Regions from separate parts of the Homo sapiens genome. Here regions 1, 3, 4 and 5 are each linked to region 2. Evidence: promoter capture Hi-C in human tissues and cell types (Jung and others, 2019). All regions are on one chromosome and are shown on one strand. The core of a region is centred on a gene start or on the middle of the fragment in contact, and the rest is flanking DNA. Distances in the headings are between cores, read along the strand shown. Region 1 has its middle 170 kb from the start of ROCK1. Region 2 holds the start of SNRPD1 (small nuclear ribonucleoprotein D1 polypeptide). Region 3 overlaps GATA6 (GATA binding protein 6). Region 4 overlaps ROCK1 (Rho associated coiled-coil containing protein kinase 1). Region 5 overlaps ROCK1 (Rho associated coiled-coil containing protein kinase 1).

Evidence for each region. Contacts are between HindIII fragments. The study calls those that stand out against the background at their distance.
Region 1: a fragment that was not itself captured here is called in contact with the fragment with the promoter of SNRPD1 in region 2 in 5 of the 25 tissues and cell types used here (H1 embryonic stem cells, dorsolateral prefrontal cortex, liver and 2 more).
Region 3: a fragment that was not itself captured here is called in contact with the fragment with the promoter of SNRPD1 in region 2 in 1 of the 25 tissues and cell types used here (dorsolateral prefrontal cortex).
Region 4: a contact is called between a fragment that was not itself captured here and the fragment with the promoter of SNRPD1 in region 2, in 2 of the 25 tissues and cell types used here (heart left ventricle and lymphoblastoid cells).
Region 5: a contact is called between a fragment that was not itself captured here and the fragment with the promoter of SNRPD1 in region 2, in 2 of the 25 tissues and cell types used here (aorta and hippocampus).

The regions. Positions count from the first base shown.
Region 1 is chr18:20,939,332-20,942,031 of GRCh38, reverse strand. No RefSeq gene overlaps it. Among named protein-coding and RNA genes, the nearest start is that of ROCK1, 170 kb to the left of the region's middle. RefSeq lists enhancers at 1,633-2,238, 2,239-2,700. The HindIII fragment of the contact is 5,118 bases long and covers 1-2,700 here.
Region 2 is chr18:21,610,966-21,613,665 of GRCh38, reverse strand. It overlaps SNRPD1 (small nuclear ribonucleoprotein D1 polypeptide), which reads right to left and starts at 1,352. Exons shown (of 4, transcript NM_006938.4): 1 at 1,223-1,352. The coding sequence starts at 1,236. RefSeq lists an enhancer at 1,204-1,293 and a silencer at 1,554-1,603. The HindIII fragment of the contact is 13,798 bases long and covers 1-2,700 here.
Region 3 is chr18:22,175,631-22,178,330 of GRCh38, reverse strand. GATA6 (GATA binding protein 6) reads right to left here. Exons shown (of 7, transcript NM_005257.6): 3 at 1,210-1,376. Among named protein-coding and RNA genes, the nearest start is that of GATA6, 7.4 kb to the right of the region's middle. RefSeq lists an enhancer at 1-29. The HindIII fragment of the contact is 4,632 bases long and covers 1-2,700 here.
Region 4 is chr18:21,023,066-21,025,765 of GRCh38, reverse strand. ROCK1 (Rho associated coiled-coil containing protein kinase 1) reads left to right here. Exons shown (of 33, transcript NM_005406.3): 11 at 2,086-2,146. Among named protein-coding and RNA genes, the nearest start is that of ROCK1, 87 kb to the left of the region's middle. The HindIII fragment of the contact is 5,100 bases long and covers 1-2,700 here.
Region 5 is chr18:20,969,036-20,971,735 of GRCh38, reverse strand. ROCK1 (Rho associated coiled-coil containing protein kinase 1) reads left to right here. Exons shown (of 33, transcript NM_005406.3): 23 at 1,223-1,388; 24 at 2,528-2,621. Among named protein-coding and RNA genes, the nearest start is that of ROCK1, 140 kb to the left of the region's middle. The HindIII fragment of the contact is 6,469 bases long and covers 1-2,700 here.

The DNA.
Region 1 (2,700 bases), core at 77-2,576, 670 kb after region 2:
CCTGCCAAGGCTTGGGTTTTCCACTCTCTGAAGCAACAGCCCAAGCTGTCTCTTAGCCCCTTTTAGTGACGGCTGGAGTGGCTGGGATGCAGAGCACCAAGTCTTTAGATTGCACACAGCATGTGGACCCTGCCTGGCCCACAAAACCATTTTATCCTAGGCCTCTGGGTCTGTGATGGGAGGGGCTGCCGTGAAGGCCTCTGACATACCCTGGAGACATTTTTCCCATTGTCTTGGGGATTAACATCTTACTTATGCAAATTTCTGCAGCCAGCTTCAATTTCTCCTCAGAAAATGAGTTTTTCTTTTCTATCACATTGTCAGGTTGCAAATTTTCTGAACTTTTATGCTCTACTTCCCTTATAAAACTGAATGCCTTTAACAGCACCCATGTCACCCCTTGAATGCTTTGCTGCTTAGACATTTCTTCCACCAGATACCCTAAATCATCTCTCTGAAGTTCAAACTTACATAAATCTCTAAGGCAGGGGCGAAATGTTGCCAGTCTCTTTGCTAAAACATAACAAGAGTCACCTTTGCTCCTGTTCCCAACAAGTTCCTCATCTCCATCTGAGTCCACCTCAGCCTGGACCTTATTGTCCATATCGCTATCAGCATTTTGGACAAAGCCATTCAACAAATCTCTAGGAAGTTCCAAACTTTCCCACATTTTCCTGTCTTCTGCTGAGCCCTCCAAACGGTTTCAACCTCTGCCTGTTACCCAGTTCCAAAGTTGCTTCCACATTTTCCGGTATCTTCTCAGCAACACCCCACTTCTGGTACCAATTTACTGTATTAGTCCATTTTCACACTGCTGATAAAGACATACCTGAGACTGGGCAATTTACAAAAGAAAGACATTTAATGGACTTACAGTTCCACGTGGCTGAGGAGGCTTCCCAATCGTGGTGGAGGGTGAAAGGCATGTCTCACATGGTGGCAGACAAGATAAAAGAGCTTGTGCAGGGAAACTCCCCCTTCTATAATCATCAGATCCCATGAGAGTCATTCACCACCATGAGAACAGCACAGGAAAGACCTGCCCCCATGATTCAACTACCTCCCACCAGGTCCCTCCCACACATGTGGGAATTCAATACGAGATTTGGGTGGGGACACAGCCAAATCACATCAGATGGGGTCTCACTCTCTTGCCCAGGCTGGAGTGCAGTGGTGCAATCTCGGTTCATTGCAAGCTCTGCCTCCTGGGCTCAAGTGATCCTCCCACCTCAGTCTCCCTAGTAGCTGGGACCACAAGCACATGCCACCATGCCCAGCTAATTTTTTGTATTTTTGGTAGAGATGGGGTCTTGCCATGTTGCCCAGGCTGGTCTTGAACTACTGAGCTCAAGCAATCTGCCCATCTTGGCCTCCAAAAGTGCTGGGGTTGCAAGAAAATAGTTGCTAATTTAAAAACTGGAATACTTCAAATACAAATCTGATTTCCAATAACTGTTTCTCAACAAAGGGCCAGAGGCCTGCACATCAGCAATATCCTCTCACTGTTTTCTGAGAGAGGATATGTTTTCTATTTCACACAGTCCTTACCTGGACCACTTATTTGTGTTATCTGTCTGATGTTTAAGATCACCTGAATTTTCAGTGCTGCCAAAAAAGGTAACAATTGGCATATGATACATACAAATATAAAACATTCCCTTTCATAGAGCAGGTTTGAAACACTCTTTCTGTAGTATCTGGAAGTGGACATTTCGAGCGCTTTCAGGCCTATGGTGGAAAAGGAAATATCTTCCCATAAAAACTACACAGAAGCATTCGCAGAAACTTGTTTCTGATGTGTGTCCTCAACTAACGGAGTTGAACATTTCGTTTGACAGAGCAGTTTGGAAACACGCTTTCTGTAGAATCTGCAAGTGGATATTTGGATAGCTTTGTGGATTTCATTGGAAACGGGAGTATCTTCATATAAAATCTAGACAGAAACATTCTCAGAAACTGCTTTGTGATGTCTGCATTCAAGTCACAGAGTTGAACATTCCCTTTCATCGAGCAGGTTTGAAACACTCTTTTTGTAGTATCTGAATGTGGACATTTGGAGCGCTTTGATGCCTACAGTGAAAAAGGAAATATCTTCCCACAAAAACTAGACAGAAGCATTCTCAGAAACTTGTTTGTGATGTGTGTCCTCAACTAACAGAGTTGAACCATTCTTTTTACAGAGCAGTTTTGAAACACTCTTTTTGTAGAATCTACAGGTGGATATTGGGATAGCTTTAAGGATTTCATTGGAAACGGGAAAATCTTCATATAAAATCTAGACAGAAGCATTCTCAGAAACTTCTTTGTAATGTGTGTCCTCAACTAACAAAGTTCAACCTTTCTTTTGATACAGCAGTTTGGAAACACTCTTTTTGTAGAATCTGCAAGTGGATATTTGGATAGCTCTAACGATTTCATTGGAAATGAGAATATCTTCATATAAAATCTAGACAGAAGCACTCTCAGAAACTACTTTGTGATATCGGCATTCAAGTCACAGAGTTGAACATTCCCTTTCATGGAGCAGGTTTGAAACATTCTTTTTGTAGTATCTGGAAGTGGACATTTGGAGCGCTTTGACGACTTTGGTGAAAAAGGAAATATCTTCCCATAAAAACGAGACAGAAGCATTCTCAGAAACTTGTTTGTGATGTGTGTACTCAACTAACAGAGTTGAACCTTTCTTTTTACAGAGCAGTT
Region 2 (2,700 bases), core at 103-2,602:
TCAGGCTGGTCTCGAACTCCTGACCTAGTGATCCACCCGCCTTGGCCTCCCAAAGTGCTGGGATTACAGACGTGAGCCACTGCGCCTGGCCTCCTCCCTGAGTGTTGAAGGCTTTTATGTGTTATTTAAAACGTTTCAAACAAACGTTACTTCAGACGTTATCTACTTGTCTGTCATCCCCACTAACCAGAAAACTCCAACAAGGCAGGTACTCTGCCTTTTAAAAAATCCTATTACCAGCGCCTAGTATGTAACAGGTGCCCAATAACTATTTAGCGGATATTGACAATCCTTGACTCAACAGGAAAAAAACAAGCTAAATATTTATAATTGCTGGCTTAGCTATTAGAAACGTCTGCCTCTGTTCCAGGCTTAGTCTCAAGGAAAAACACCAAAACCAAATCTACTTGCAGGTAGTTTAGAATTATTCACATCAGCAAACAAGTTTTCAGAAGACTCACCTAACTGACAGGGTCTATTTATTTCTTAAGAAATAAAACAGGAGAACTATATATTATCTGAGTAATCAGCCACAATTACGTTGTGATAATTTCTGCCCTATATTGGGAGATTTTCCTAAATAAAAAGCCTACCTTAAAGGGAAATAGAGGTGGAATAATCAATCACAAATCTAAGGAGGATAAAAAGGTAAACTTAAAAATCGGCCGGGCACGGTGGCTCAAACCTGTAATCTCAGCCCTTTGGAAGGGCGAGGCGGGCAGAAAGCTTGAGCCCAGGAGTTCGAGACCAGCCTGGTCAACAAAGTGAGACACCATCTTTATTTAAAAAAACAAAAACTTGTGAAGCCGGAAGTCCTTCTCTGATTTAAAATATTTTGCAAACAGGTTTGTTTCCAGATAAGCTCATACAGCTTTCTAAGTACTGTTAAGCAGGACTGGGGAGTTCCACTCAAAAAGAAAATGAGTAACTGTAAGAGGGAGATGTGTCCCAGGAGGCGCTGCATCTTTAAAGCCTCTAAGTCACTAGGCAGGAAGAAAAGGCTCGGCCTTTATACCAATCTCTTGGAAGACACGCGGGATCCGCGAGCGACCCAGGCGGAAGCCCAGGCCCGAGCACGAGCTGCGGGCGCAGTAAGGCCGGCCGTTAGCAGGCCGCGCACACGCGGCTTTCCCGCCTCCTGCAAATGGGAGAGCCCAGCCTTCCGGACTCCGGGCCAAGCCCTCCCTTCACAGCCCCCAGAGCTGCTTGGTCACTCCCTCACCTCACGAGCTTCATCCTAGCGGCGCCGTCACCCTCTGGGTCCGACAGCACACAGAATCCTTCAACCGAACACTGACCGACTGCAGTATGAATGGCCGGAAGCGCCTACTCCAGGGGCTCCGGACGTCAAGAGCGCGCGGAGCACTGCAGGCGCATGGCGGAAACGCCGAGGCTGCGCTGGGCCGCACTCTCTTCCGGCCGCGAGGAGCGCGACTGCGGCCCCTGGCGGCTGGAGGTTGCCTTGCGACGGCTGAGGGTATCGAGGGCTGGTCTTGGAGAAAAATGTCCTACAAGAGAGGGAGATTCGAAGAGATTAAATCCAATTAATAGGACTGTCGCATTTTGGGAGGCCGAAGCGGGGGTATCACCTGAGGTCAGGAGTTCAAGACCAGCCTGGCCAACAGGGTGAAACCCCCGTCTCTACTAAAAAGACAAAAAATTAGCTGGGCGTGGTGGCGGGCGCATGTAATCCCAGCTACTCGGAAGGCTGAGGCAGGGGAATCGCTTGAACCCGGGAGGCGGAGGCTGCAGTGAGCGGAGATCGCACCACTACACTCCTGCCTGGGCAACAAGAACGAAACTCCGTCTCCCAAAAAAAAAAAAAAAAAAAAAAAGTACTGTCACCATCACGTTTCTGAACAGCAGGGCACTGTGAGTGCAGCACCTAATACAAATTCCTCACTGAACGGAAAGAAGGTCTTAGAGAAGCCCAAAGTCTTATGCTGATTCTGTTCCAACACCAGGAACCTAGCATTGCTTACTGTACCTGAAGCAAATCACACAATGGGCCAGGCGCTGTGGCTCAAGCCTGTAATTCCAGCACTTTGGGAGGCCGAGGCGGGCAGATAGCGAGGTCAAGAGATCGAGACCATTCTGGCCAACATGGTGAAACCCCGCCTCTACTAAAAATACAAAAATTAGCGGGGCGTGGTGATGCGCGCCTGTAGTCCCAGCTATTCGGGAGGCTGAGGCAGGAGAATCGCTTGAACCCAGGAGGTGGAGGTTGCAGTGAGCTGAGATCGTGCCACTGCACTCCAGCCTGGCAACAGAGCGAGACTCCGTCTCAAAAAATAATAATAATAAAAATAAAATCCACAATGTAGCAGATTATTTTCACTTTAAGTTCCAATCTATAAGACAAACTTTTCAGTCTTCATCTTTCTCAACATCTCATCAAAATATATATATTTTTTATTTTTTTGAGATGGAGTCTCACTCTGTCGCCCAGGCCGGAGTGCAGTAGCGCGATCTCAGCTCACTGCAACCCTTGCCTCCCGGTTTCAAGCCATTCTCGTGCCTCAGCCTCTCCAGTAACTGAGATTACAGGCGCGCATCACCATGGCCCGCTAATTATCGTCTTTTTATGTATGTATGTATGTACGTACGTATGTATGTATTTTGAGACAGAGTCTCCCTCTGTCGCCCAGGCTGTAGTGCAGTGGCGCGATCTCGGCTCACTGCAAGCTCCGCCTTCCGGGT
Region 3 (2,700 bases), core at 62-2,561, 560 kb before region 2:
CACACATAACAATGACAATACGAGATTAATCCCTGAAATCAGGATTCCCTTACTTTAAAACATGGTGGCCGGGCGCGGTGGCTCACGCCTGTAATCCTAGCACTTCGGGAGGCCGAGGCGGGCGGGATCACATGAGATCGGGAGTTCGAGACCAGCCTGACCTACATGGAGAAACCCTGTCTCTACTAAAAATACAAAAAAATGAGCCGGGCGTGGTGGCACATGCCTGTAATCCCAGCTACTCGGGAGGCTGAGGCAGGAGAATCGCTTGAACCCTGGAGGCGGAGGCTGCGGTGAGCCGAGATCGCGCCATTGCACTCCAGCCTGGGCAACAAGAGTGAAACTCCGTCTCAAAAAAAAAAAAAAAAAAAAAAAAAACAAAAAAACAGTAAAACGTGTGCGAATTGGGGAAAATGCTCAACTTAAGAACATACAAACCACACTTTTACTCAAGTTCTACAAAGTTCTCTGATTTTGAAATAACAAAAGTTAGAGCAAATAAATTTTCACCAGGCTCAAGGGCAATCCAAGATATGGTATTTGGGGATACACCTGAGGATAAGAGGTAGAAGTGACCAAGAAGGTGGAAAGGACAAAGTAAACGGCACCCAAAAGAATGTGGCTGTGAGGAGGCGTGAGTGGGTGGATTTCTGGCATATTCTATTTGGGGGACGAATGGTATAAGTGAGCATGGTTTTTCAAGCATAAAATCTAAACCATACACAGTGAAAAAAGTCTTCCTTCGCCCGGCCTCGGTAGGTCTACTGTTTTTCTCCTCGGGTTACCATCACCAATTTCTTGCCTATCTTACCAGAATTATTACGGTGCTTTGGCAAGTACACCTAGAGATATATAGATTATTTTTTCTTTTTTTGCTTAAAACATGGTAACATTTTGCACCTTCCTTTTTTGTTTGTTTTTGTTTTTGTCATTTACGGACGTCATCCCCTGCGCGTAAACATGGGGAAAGGCTATCTTGGCTTCCCAGAGGCCAGTTTCGGGGTAACTTCTACTTGGGCGCCAGCGGGTGGGCGTTGGAACAGCCGGGACAGGATGGTACCGCTGGGTCCCCGCTAGGGTGGGACCGCAGCGGCCGCACCTGTCCCCTGGGAGGGGGACGCCCAAGGCAGGCCGAGCCAGGGCGGGGCCGGCCGGGCCAGGAGAGCCCGGGGCCGGCCGCGAGCCAGGGGCAGGGCGGGTCACACTCACCACGCGCTTCTGCGGCTTGATGAGGGGCCGGCTGAGGCCGTTCATCTTGCTGTAGAGCCCGCAGGCGTTGCACAGGTAGTGGCCGGTGCCGTCCCGCCGCCACAGCGGCGTCTGGATGGAGCCGCAGTTCACGCACTCGCGGCTCTCGGACAGGTCCTCCAGCAGGTCTGCGGCGACAGCGGTGCGTGAGGGCGGGAGTGGGCGCGCCGGACCCGTCCCTCCCCGCGTCACCCCGGGGACCCCGGCCCCCAGCCCCGGTGCCCGGCTTCCCTGCCCGTGCCCTTCCCGGCTGAGCTTTTCTCCTTGGCCGCAAAGCCAGGAGCAGGGTTATTTCGTCACTATTGCTCCACTGACCATTTGTCCAATACTTCTGCACACCCGGAGCGCCCCAGTAGAGACTCCGGGAAAGAGACAGTGCTGGAAGCAGAGGACGTCAGAGTCCGAGATGAGCGGTGGGGAGGTCGGCTTGAGTCCCCTGACCCCTACTCTCAGGCTGTCCCGGAGCTTTTAAAGACTGAAATCCATCATCATTACAGTACGTCGTTGCCAAACCCGAGCAAGCCACACAGAAATACTGACCACTGAGCCCCGCTGCAACCCACAAATATCCGGGGACACAGCGAGGCTGCCTCATTAACTTTTATCTCAAGTAATTTTAAAAAGTATTTTCTACATCTGCCACCCGTCCATATGTGCCTCTTCTCCAATTAAAGATACACAAGTGAAATTAAAAGTACTATTCTTAGGCACCTACGTTAGTTAGAAACTAGAAATGAGAAGATTACTCTCATCTTTTCAGGGGAAAAATGCACTAACGTTAAGCACAGAGTTTTATTTTCATGCCACAAAGATCAAATGCTAAAATCCCGATTTAGAAGTGGGTCCAACTGCTTCTATCTGCAAAATTTTTATAAAAGGTTGATACCTTACTGATTGAGAAAATTACCAAGACCTTCCCAGTGATCATTTTGAGTTAGCAATCGATTTAAAATGTGTTTATTTTACATAATTTTATTATTATTATTCTTTGGTTAGTTTTCAGAATTCACAATAACCTAAACCTGCTAATAAAAACAAATCCTAATTAAGAGTAAATGTAACATTTATTACTTCTCAAGAAGGTTAAATATGGAAGAATAAATGTCTCTAAAAATGAGAAAGGTACTTATTGTAAGTATAGACCAAAAAAAAGTATAGACCGCCATTTAAGGTTCTTTAGATTATAGAAGGTTTAAATGTCCTAGTTCTGCATTATTGAAGAAGCATTCCTGAATCACTTTTTAAAGTAAATAAACATTACACTTCAGAGTTTTAGCTTAAGATTATGTGCTGGTGAACCTTTTGGTTCTTTCTCATCCCCTTGCAGTTTATTGCTTGTGTCTACTATCAACTGTGTGGTAACGATATTTAAATATGACTTTAGCATAAAAACTTTAATTCCATTAATACTATTTACAAAACAAGTCTCTTTTCTCATTTCTTATTAAGTTT
Region 4 (2,700 bases), core at 111-2,610, 590 kb after region 2:
AAGAACCAACAAAATATATATATATTTTTGAAACAAGAGTCTCACTCTGTCGCTGAGGCTGGAGTGCGGTGGTGTGATCTTGGCTCACTGCAATCTCTGCCTCCTGGGTTCAAGTGATTCTTGTGCCTCAGCCTCTGAGTAGCTGGGATTACAGGTGCGTACCACCATGCCTGGCTAATCTTTGTATTTTTATTAGAGATGGGGTTTTGCCATGTTGGCCAGGCTGTTGGCCAGGCTGGTCTCAAACCCCTGGCCTCAAGTGATCCACCCACCTTGGCCTCCCAAAGTAATCCCAGCGGATTACAGGTGTGAGCCACTGCACCTGGCCCTGGCAAAATATTGATTAGCTTTATTGTAATATGTAAGCATAATTTTGAATATACAGATATGAAATAGAAAACCTCTGAAATTCTTATCCCTGAAATCCAGATATACTTTTAATACCAAGGGCAGAAATCATTGTTGCTTAATTATAGCTGAATTAAACATGATTTTTAAAATAGCCTTAAGCTATATTCCTAATATAGTAACTCCCGTTTTGTAAAAAGTTACCTAAATGACCAGATTCTATGTAAAAGCACCAATATAATATGCAAATGTACCTTGATAGAGAAAAGACAGAAGGTGGAAGAATTAATGGATGTATACAAGTGATGTCCTTACATTTCCTTTGCTGCATTCAAGCTTATATTACTAATTTTGCAGAAGACTAAAATGTCAGTCTCAGTCACATAGCATGTTAAGTTTAGAAAATATCTTAGAGATGAAACAGTCTCATCTAATTTAGATGCCACTGGCATTGCTATATGCCTTATTTATATTACATAAGCAGAATCTCACATTGAATTTCTGAGATGCTTAGTAGTCAATGGAATTAAATTGCACCACACCTAGAATTTGTCATTTGTTATATGGGACTTTTCCTCTATAAAGCTGCTACACAGCCCCTATTATTGTCTTAAAGTTATTTGAATCTCCATTTGATCTGAATAATTTTTCAAGGAAAACCTAGGAAGTGGCATATTTCTAGCTGTTTCTTTTATAGTACCATTGTACTGTGTATGTTTATTGATACTTAATGGATACTTGATTATCTTCTGTTATTCACTAATTTTTAAAATTTACTTAAACTGTTCTTTTGGAACATTATTAATATCTGGTGTGTTAACACATGCCTCCAATAGCTATGAAGTATACTGTAACTATTTGATCTCCTTTTGCAATAGCTCTACTGGTTAATCAGGGTGCTGACTGTAGTGGTGGTGATGGTAGAAGTAGTGATTATGGTAGTCGTAGCATGGTGGCAGTAGGAGCAACACTGGCAGTACTAGTACCTTACCTTTATATAATATTTGGTAGCTTAAAAAATTGTTTACATATATGATCTATTTAGATTGTTTGAGAATCTTGTGAGACATCTAAAAAAGACCTCTAAATTAGTTCACTAATAGCTTTATTTATATACAATTCTAACTTTACACTGAATTTAAAGAACTCTGCAAGGCTGGGAGTCCCAAAAGATTAGCAGCATCACCTAAACTTTGGTTCTGTTATTTCACCCACATAGGCAAAAACTTTTTTGACCCGAAGAGGCAATATTATGCTTTGCTGAAGGATAGTTGGGTGCAGGAGAGGTGGTTATGCATATGTCTGCAGAAGTCAGCAGTTTCTTACCCCCAATTCTTATATACAAAAAGCTCTGAAAACTGAATGTTTTTAAGTTATTTGTTTGGTGGAAAAACCTGTCATAACCTGCTCTCATGACCAGAAAGCCTAATCTGAACTAACTTGAGACTATGGTTTTTATTTATCCTACTTGGTATGAATATTCTTATGTTTTGCTGCAGGAATATTAAGTCATATGTTTACAGGCTGCTACTATTTTTAGACCTAACTGGGTGTTTTATTTAATATATGTATCATTTCTGAATTATGTTTATAAAAATTATGAACCTATACTTAATTTTTAAAAACAAAGTTACTATAACTGAACATAAAATAGGCGTGTAGTATTTATTATTGGTTGTCATGGGATATTACAGAGTTTTTTGTTTTCTTTTCTTTTTAAACTTTTCTTTCCCTCAGATACTTATCTTCAGCAAATCCTAATGATAACAGAACTAGCTCCAATGCAGATAAAAGCTTGGTAGGTATTTTCTTAGTATTAAGAAAATTGTTTTTAAAATTGTTTTGTGGATAATATATTTGTGGGTATGATAGTAAATTTATATATTGTTTGTGAAGCTGTGGTTAGCTGAACTTAGATTTTTATGGCACTTTCATCTCCCATCTCCTTTTCAGTCTGATTTTTTGCTCAAATATCAAATGGAATAATATATTTGGAGGCAGTTAGTAAACTAAATTGTTACACAGATTGACAGTGGTCATCTTTTTTAATCTTCGGAATCAGGAACTATGATATATCAATGTATCATTAAGGGTCTTGACAGGCAAACAGATTACATGTTCAAAATATTTAAACAGAGAGTTTTGTGTGTATGGCAAATATACGTAACATGAAATTTACCGTTTTAATCATTTTTAAGTGTGCAGTTCGGTGGCATTAAGCACCTTCACATAGTTGTGCAGCCATCACTGCCATCCATCTCTAGAACCTTTTCATCATCCCAAACTAAAAATCTATACCAATTAAACAGTAACTCCTCATTTCACCCTCCCCCCAGCTCCTGGTAACCACTG
Region 5 (2,700 bases), core at 191-2,690, 640 kb after region 2:
TTACTGCTGTGTCTCTTTATTTATTTATTTATTTATTTATTTATTTATTTATTTATTTATTTATTTATTTTTGAGACGGAGTCTTGCACTGTCACCTCAGCCTCCCAAGTAGCCGGGATTACAGGCACACACCACCACACCTGGCTAATTTTTTGTATTTTTAGTAGAGATGGGGTTCCACTACGTTGGCAGACTGGTCTCCAACTCCTGACCTCATGATCTGCCCGCCTCAGCCTCCCAAAGGGCTGGGATTATGGGGGTGAGCCACTGCTTCCGGCCTGCTGTATCTCTTAATTCCTAGAACAGCGTGATGCATAGTAAACATAGTGTAGTACTTAGTAAACCTTCAAGTAAATAGCTGTTGGGTGAATTAATGAATTTTCTGTGTGTATGTGTGTGTGTGTGTGTGTGTGTGTGTGTGTGTGTGTGTATGTTTACTATATGTCTCCCTCTTGAGGCTTCAGGCAGAAAATTTGAATTGTAATACTCACTAGAAAATAGGAGGTGGAAGTTACTCATTCAGAACATATTTATTGAGCACCTACTCTGTTCAGGGAATACAGTAGTGACTAAGAGAGCTTATCCAAGAGAGGCTCTTTGAGAAGAGTAGGCAAACTGGAGTTGTCTTGGTCTGAATGTCAGTTCTGAAATGTTTTAGTATCATTTCCAGGGAGCATTCTCAGATTAGTTTGTAGTGATTTGCAAATCTCTTATAAGTTTTCATAATCTCATTTAATTTCAGAGCTGGAAGGGACTAGTTTAACCATCTCATTTTACAGATTTGATGAAACTGAACTGCAGGAAGTGTAAGGGACTTGCCCAGTGTCTCTACTCAATTAGTTAATGATAAAACAGAGATAAAGTTCTGGGTCTAGCCTGCTGATTAACAAGTCAATGACTTTTCCACTATGCCACGCTGCCTTCCATTCCAAATCTGCAAGAAATTTCTTTTCAAAAGCAGACTATTTGCTATTGCTTTATGACCTTTTTTAGTTAAGCACAATATGGGATAGAAAACTAAATAGTTCTTTTATAATTTTTCAACATGTGAGAGGTTAAATTCATTACTTTTATAGAAAGTTTGCAATGGATTTAAATTTATTTTAAGCAATAAAATAATTCTTTTTATCATTTAAAGTTAATTGTGTTTTTAAGAATATGATTAAGTTGGAAGGATGAACTGAATTTGTTTACATCAGTTTCTCTTAAAAAATTGTTGCAGAGAAACTCTTGCTACTCAGTTGGATCTAGCAGAAACAAAAGCTGAGTCTGAGCAGTTGGCGCGAGGCCTTCTGGAAGAACAGTATTTTGAATTGACGCAAGAAAGCAAGAAAGCTGCTTCAAGAAATAGACAAGAGATTACAGATAAAGATCACACTGTTAGTCGGGTAAGTGTGATAGTCAGGTAAGTTATATAAAATTTATTTAAATCACAATAGGTCACATCTTAAAATATTAGGGTAAGTGTGTGTGCAAGTGTATTTACTTCTATGTTAATACATAGTGGTCATTCTGTACTCATGTATAAAATAGTTTGTATAATACCAAACATTTGTTAATTATTGAAATTCTTGTTCAAGATATTGGGCTTTTGTTTGTATAGGCACAGAACCAATGCAATATTGGGCTGTTTTTCTGGCTGTAGATCTTATTAGTTATATTTCATATGAAGTAATGGCTTAGCTTAAATTCATTTGTTGTTCTCTTAATACATTGCAACTGATTTTATGGGCCAGAATTCTGTGAAATATAGAGAAACCATTTGGGAATGAGGAATTCTTGGGATAATATATAAATCCATTATAAGAAAACCAATACTCCAAACAATTACCTATTCCTGAGGTTTATACTGTAATCTATATAGAATCATGCGACTAAAAAGAGGAGTTAGATTTTTCTTGTAAAGCCACTATCAGTCACTCTGGGTTCCAGTTTTGCCCCTAAGAAGTTATATGGTCTTGGCAAAGTTGGCTTTAACTTCTCTAAGCCTCAGATTTCTCATCTATAAAATAGAAATAGTAATATCTCTTCCACATGATTGTTATGAGGATTAAATAAGACAGTAGACATAGAATGATTAATATAACATATAACAAGTAATGATTATATATTACTAAAAGTAATCTATAAATAAATGTTTTTATTATCGTTTTCATCATCAATATTCAGATAAAGATATTGAAGTCCAGAAAAAGTATGACTTGCTCGGGGTCACATACTAGGTTAATCGCAGAGCTAGAACTAAATACAAATTTCTTAGTTTGCAATCTAGTTATCTTGCCATTACATATGCCCCCCTTTTGTTCATACATATATCTATATGCATACAATGAAATAATTTTTGGATGCTGTTAACTACTTTTAAATATTTTTGATGTAATTACATATTTTAAGCTGGAAACCAGACATTTGCTGTAGTTCAGCAGTGTCTGACCTGTCTTTATCTAGCAGTATATTTAAAGGTTACTGCCTGAAATACGAGAATAGCAAAGAGGCTGGAGCTTAAACTTTTGTGTGCTTTGTTTAGCTTGAAGAAGCAAACAGCATGCTAACCAAAGATATTGAAATATTAAGAAGAGAGAATGAAGAGCTAACAGAGAAAATGAAGAAGGCAGAGGAAGGTATGTAGAATTTTTAAAAAATCATCATGTTAAATCAAATTCAGTGATTTATCTTTACCTATGTTGTGTTAGGTTTCTA